2 separate regions of the Homo sapiens genome follow, and region 2 is linked to region 1. The links are contacts of gene promoters, found by promoter capture Hi-C in human tissues and cell types (Jung and others, 2019). All regions are on one chromosome and are shown on one strand. Each heading gives the region's core, a stretch centred on a gene start or on the middle of the fragment in contact. The rest is flanking DNA. Distances are from core to core; before and after follow the strand shown. Region 1 holds the start of GABPA (GA binding protein transcription factor subunit alpha). Region 2 has its middle 36 kb from the start of ADAMTS1.

Evidence for each region. The method cuts DNA at HindIII sites, captures the fragments that hold promoters and counts their contacts. A contact is called where the count stands out against the background at its distance.
Region 2: a contact is called between a fragment that was not itself captured here and the fragment with the promoter of GABPA in region 1, in 1 of the 25 tissues and cell types used here (heart left ventricle).

The regions. Positions count from the first base shown.
Region 1 is chr21:25,733,394-25,736,709 of GRCh38, reverse strand. It overlaps GABPA (GA binding protein transcription factor subunit alpha), which reads right to left and starts at 1,738. Exons shown (of 10, transcript NM_002040.4): 1 at 1,132-1,738. It overlaps ATP5PF (ATP synthase peripheral stalk subunit F6), which reads left to right and starts at 1,806. Exons shown (of 4, transcript NM_001003703.2): 1 at 1,806-1,857. RefSeq lists silencers at 745-954, 1,015-1,154, 2,095-2,194 and enhancers at 1,655-1,774, 1,795-1,904, 1,331-1,986, 2,305-2,384. The HindIII fragment of the contact is 8,192 bases long and covers 1-3,316 here.
Region 2 is chr21:26,807,467-26,810,643 of GRCh38, reverse strand. No RefSeq gene overlaps it. Among named protein-coding and RNA genes, the nearest start is that of ADAMTS1, 36 kb to the left of the region's middle. The HindIII fragment of the contact is 3,946 bases long and covers 1-3,177 here.

The sequences.
Region 1 (3,316 bases), core at 489-2,988:
GGTTTGGAGTTTTATATATAAAGAGTTGAGGGAAGGCTAAAGTCAACAGTTTTAATTTAGTACTCGGTCTGATGATTTGCTTCAACCTAACATCTAGCTCATGATTTAATTACTTCATTACTATACATGCCTCATGACAGATGCTCTTGTATACACAATTCAGGTAAAATTGACTTGAAGTCCACTCAGCGTCACTGTATGTCTAAAAATAAAGAAGCTTGGAAAGCCTGGATGGAACCCTGAGAGACAGGCTAGTCCCTCAAGCAGTTGCTAAAGAGTTGAGCGGTTTCTTCTGAAGTTCAAGATAACACTACCGAAGAATGTTATCACCGCCTCGTTCTACAATTCGCTCAAGTGAATCCTGCTAAATCTTTGCTCTTCTCACGAGTCAGACCTACTGCTATTAGTGGAAACTACTTATGAAATGAATTTTATTTCTAAATTTCTAATCATCTTGCAATGCAATATTAGGCATTGTCCTCTCGGTCCGCTAACCTGATCAAACTGGGGTCCCTAAATCCAAACACGCACATACAGCGTGTCTTCTAGTACACAAAAAAATTTCCAAGTAGACAACCCATTGTTATCTCCTTGGTTTACTTCCTTGCTTAAAAACAAAAAAACAAACCCAGATGGCTACCATATACGCTGATAAATGATTCTGGTGTGTGTTGTTCTATAAAGAGAGCGGATTTGAAATGAGTGAATCGCTGAGTCCCGCGATGAGACAGGGTCTGCATTTTGCTCTTAAAATCTCGGGGGCGTCAGGACCACATCCCAGCTGAGCAGGCTGAGACTGCTGAGGAGTGCGGACGGGCGAGGAGGGGACGCGGAAAGGAGGGAGCGGCGACAGGCGACCCGTCCGGCACGGGTCCCGGCGGTGCCCGGTCCCCCCGGGCTCCAGGCCGCTCGCCCCCCGCCCCTCCCCTTCGCTCCCCGCACAGCTCTCCCGCCCCTCCCCACCCGGCTCCCTCAAGTCTCCACGAACGGAAATGGGAGTCACAGCGCCGGGGACCAGCGGAAACAAAACACAGAGGCGGCCGCGGGGGGGCCCTTGTGGGGGAAAAGGCCCCGGAACGAGGCCGGCCCGCGAGGGCCCGCGCTCCCCTCCTCCCCGGCGGCCGCACTCACCCACTCCGGAATCGGCCCTGTCGCCCCCGCCCGCACTCCAGAGCCGGCTGAGAACGGCAGCGGCGAGGGCTCCACGTGCAGCGTCTCTCCGGGTAAGACCTGCAGCTCCCGCGACTAGAAGTGTGAGGTCCCAGGGCCCTTCCCGCGGAATCGGCGCTGAGAAGCCCCAACCCCCCTCCCGCCTCCCAGGCACCTTCGGGTCCAGGACTACAACTCCCGGCAGGGTGCGCAAAACGACCGCCCAAGGCAACGGAGGCTCACGAGGTACAAGGAAGCACAACGCCCCAATCCGCTTTGTTTTACACAGTCTCACTTTCCCTGCACCTTTATACACTTCGATAACCCTAACGAACAGGACGCTGACTCGGAGGGGAGCTTGAACTAGGGGAAAGGCCACTCAAAGAGCGCATGCGTACAGAGCAAGGTTTCAAGGAGGGGAAAAAGAACGGGTCAAATTAGGCGAAGAAAAGATGGCGGAGGCTGTGCCAGGGGACCCGGAAGCACTTACCCTCCACTTCCTCCTCCTGTTTGGCTTCTGTCTCACCTAGACCCGTCCGGTCGCAGACTGTCTCCGAGACGCTTCCTGTCCGGTGAGCGTCGACCGACTGAAACGGCGGCCCATAATGCATTGCGATGGCGGGTAGGCGTGTGGGGGCGGAGCCAGGGCCGGAAGTAGAGCGGAGGTGGTGGCGGCGGAGGCTTTGGCAGCTCGGGACTGAGTGCAAGGTGACTGGGAGGGTAGCTAGATCAGCGTGGCCTTTTGGGACTCCAGTTCTGGGTTTTTTCACGAGGCCTGGGCTGCCTCTCACCTTTACTAGGAGGAGAGAGCAGCTCTGTGTCCTGGGGACCTTCACGGCCTGGCCCGGGGTCACAGCTGACCTCTACGTTTGTAGACCTTGGAGTTTGCCGTAGACCCAGAAATAAGATCGATACCCTCTCTGAGGGCAAATCGGGGCGGCGCGGGGGGCAGGGAGGCCCGGGGGTCTCGGGCCCGCAGCCTGGCTGGGGCAACCCAAGGTCAGGCGCGCGGGAGAGATTTTCGGCCAGGCCTACCCGCCCCGGGCGCACGGGAGCGTCTAGGCTACTTAGGCAGAACGTGTACCATTAAGAGGGAAAAAATTAGTCATAATATTGAAAGTTTGCATCCCACCTAAAAACGATGGTGCTAACACTTCATTAGGCGACTTTATGGATTGTTCATAGGAATATGCACTGAAGAGGCAGCGAACCTACTAACCTTTGGCCGGTCAGTCATCACTATAAATAGAACCATGCTCCCACCCAGAACAAGGCCTCTGCTCAGACTAGTGTTTTCTTACTGTTGCCTTCCCCAGTCTTTCTGATCATGTCAGACGCTATCATATGCTCTCGTGGCACCCGATGGTACTGGAATAGAGAATTTATGTCAGGTGGTATTTCACAGCTATTTGTGTAATGACTATCTTCTGCGTTTTAGTGGACAATATGCATTCACTAATCAGTGAAAAAAAATGAAAGGGATTAAAGGAGAAGGAACAAGTTTTGATATGGGATTATGTGTTCGTTTTTTGGATGAGTTCGTAGGACTTATAAGGGAGATGAGAACTGTTGAATGCTGTGGATAGATTTGGGGCTCAGGATGAATACTAAAATTAGAAATGCGATTGGGGAATCATAGGCACTTACATGGTGGATAATTGAAACAATGAAAGTGGATTTTACCCGTGTTGCAGAAGGAGTAACATCTATGCAGTCAGACTTAGAGCAAATTAACTGTGAGAATACGTGCAGCTTAATCTTTCTTAGATACAGTTTTATCATCTGTAAAGCAGGGATAAGAACACTTTAACTCTTTGAGAGTATTGCTGTAAGGGTACAAGGAAAGGATATATATGGAAGTACTTTGCACAGTATCTAGGGCTAAGCAAATGTCGGGTGAACCTATTGCTGAATGTTAAGCATGTCCTTAGTTTGCCAGAAGGGAAAGTGGCATTGAATTGCACAATTTTTTTTTTTGCATATATGTGTTAAGTTAGATTTTGCTGTGTAACTTTGACCAGATACTTTTTTTTTGAGACAGAGTCTCGCTCTGTCGCCCAGGCTGGATTGCAGTGGCACGATCTCTGCTCACTCCAAGCTCCACTTTCCAGGTTTACGCCCTTCTGCCTCAGCCTCCGGAGTAGCTGGGACTACAGGTGCCCGCCAC
Region 2 (3,177 bases), core at 656-3,155, 1.1 Mb before region 1:
AGGTATTATCATCATATTTAATTTAAAAGATGAAGCTGACTCACAGCAAATTCAAATTTATTTTTCTTATACAGGATTGTGGTGATGACTACTTGGGCAAAAATCACATACGCACATCATAGGGGCTAGAGGTACGTTCAGACACCAAACCTTTCTCACAATTTATATGAATAATGAGTGCCGAGCATAGCCTGGGAGAATAGTCAGCCAGATGTTTTCAACACAAATTTCACATTCTTGCAATGCTTTATTTCGTTTGATTTGTTTTTTTGGTGTGTAGTTTGGGAGTTTTCATGGGGGTGGCTTTGACCTTGAACACAAAGGTAAGTGAAAATTAAGGGTAATTTCTACAGCATAAAACAGCAATGACGAATTGGTTGATTTCCACCATATTTTATCTTTATTCAGAGCCTATAAAAGGAAGACTAGTCTGTGAACATCTGTAGAACACATGTGAAGAGTGAAGAAAATCCTTTTATTCCTAATATTTCTCACAGAAAATTCCTTATGACCTATGCAAAACATCATTATTAGAAACTATCAATTTAAATGTAGTAACAACTACTAGATCTAGTAAATATTTCTTGTTGACCTGTCTCAAATTTTGTCATCATGAGACACATGAGCAAAAATAAAATCAGGTGTCTTTATTACTCATCAACTTTATATCATTGTATGAGCAAGCGACTTTCAGTACCTTGAACGCTGAAACATCAGGTGAAGGAATGCTTCCGCTTCTATGTGTGTTTTAAACTTGTTAGGACATGAAAGTGCTTAAAAGTAAGTTTGTTTTCCAAATTTAAAAAAATAAATTTAACCATGTAATACATCCAGTGGAAAAAAAAATGTATACAAAGTTTTTTTTTTTTTTTTACTTTTGACTTTTGCACGAAGTGGGCCTTTTCAACAGGGTTGTAGGTAGCAATGATCAGTTCCTAAATGGCCATGGCTGAAACAACACCGTCCTTAGAGCAAGGCTGATGACAAATTAATTCCAAGAACTTTTTACATCACTTGAAAAATGTACTGTTGGAACATTCCTCTATGTTTTAAAATCTGGAGATTAGTGAATCTTTTAAAGATAGATTTGGAAAGGCAAAGCAAGCTCATGAAGACATCATCATATAGGTGAATTCAAGCAAGCTTTGTTTCAGTGTAGACAACGTATTTGTCCACCTATTTTGACTGCATCAAAGGGAATACTGAAAAAAAATGTGAAAAAAGTTTCTAGTCAAAAGAAGAAATTTCAACCAAGCCATATTAGAATTCTGCAGGACCTGCGTGAAGTAAGAGTATTGTCTACCACCAAGTCAGGAATTGATGATCCTTCCAAACACATAAAATCCCTTTGGTGATGAAAGCAAAATCCCCAGACAATTTGATTCTTTTTTCCCAAAGTGAGCCTCCACCCTAAATTTCCAACTATAATACTTAATTTGGCAAGGGAACAGTAGCATAAAATGCATTTTGCTCATGAATTATATTTTTTCCCTGTTCTTCATGACATTTATGCATGCCAAATATAAATGGCCGCACATGGATTAAGTAACAAAGGTGTCTTTCCTTTCCAGTAGCACACATTTTATTAATAAGGATTTGACCCAATCATCAGAGTGAAGGAAAAAAAAAATTAAACTGGCTTCTGGAAATAAAGTGTGTGACCCATCTGAGGCAAATTATCTATTTTAAAGTACCAGTTTCTCTCAGCATTTCAGAAAGTTACTTGCTCAAAAAGGAAAGTAATTTCTTGGAGGAAATAATTTACCTCAGGTGGAAAAGGGGCAAAGGTGTAGCTCTTGACCTAGCAAAGTTTTTAACCCAGGCTTGGAACCTCAGTATTAAATGGATCCCAACAATCCAATACTAAACTCAAATTGTAAGGGCTAGAGCAGAGTCTTTTACTATTTCAAGGCTCTGTTGATTTTGAAAGGGCTCTTTAAGAGGTTGTCTCAAAACCCATGTGCTCACAAAACTCAATATTGGCATCGTATACCAGTTCCCATAGGTTCTCTGATGTTTCTGGAGGTAACTGCATACAGAAATTAGACAGATTGTTCAGCAGTATTTACTGGTAGGGTAAGTTTGAAAAAGTATTATCTCATTTGTTCTTATTCTAGACATAAATTCTTCTCAAGTAGCTTCCCTTGTTCCAGGAAAGCTGAAAATCCCATTCACACATAGAGATGGGGCACTTTTGAATGTTGTGTTCATAACTGCCATTTTTCTACTTCCATTCAGTTTGCTCATCGTATATATTTTTAACTTCAATTGAGATTCTCATGCATCCATTTAACACTAACTCCAAGGCACTCATTTCCAGCATTGATCGTCACAGGTTGCTTTATTGGTGTCCTGTGGGTGGCGTGAGGTACGATGGTGCTCTGGCGTCCGCTTTCTTTCTTCTTCCATATGAACTCCTAGTCTGGGTTCCACAACACTACCAGATTTTTTCCCATCCCAATCCAGATTCCTTCTGGGACTTCAAATCCGGGCTTGGGCATAGGAGGAGTAACAAAGAAATATTTTCCCATTGAAATATCCCCTAGTGAGACCTTGCTAGACTGGCTTGAAGAGGGTTTTCTATCTAAGTAGCCCATCAATTTTCTTCTCCATGTAGAGTGGCATAAACAGGTCTAAAAAAGTAAACTATGATTTTCTCTGTAAGTGAACATCCTGTATGTCAGGCTCATAATCTCAAGAGGATAAGTAGATTGATTTAACATAAGAAGTGGAGAGCTGGTATGTAAGTGCAAGTGTGCGTAAAACCTGGAATTTGAATAGTAAAACCAGTTTGAATTTTGACAACCTAACATATGGATAGTAAGACCAGTTTGAATTCCGACAACCTGAAATATGAATAGGAGGGGATGGCTGTGGATAGGGTTAAGATGAAGGCAGATATACTGAACTTAGCATGAATTACCTTTGGTCTAGTAATATTACCTTTGGTCTAGTAATGCCAGCTTGGCAGCCTAAACTGAATTTATCCATTGATTTAAATAAACCAGTGGGTGTCAAGTATCTATGCAAAGCTTGTGTAAGAGCTCCATAAGATTTTTAAAAAGTCATCCACAAATAAAATGCAAAGCCTATGAGATTGGCCTGATGAAAATATCCCAATAACTGAAGGGAGGGTAAATTTGAATATGGCACGTCTCGTATGGGGTCCTTTTTCCA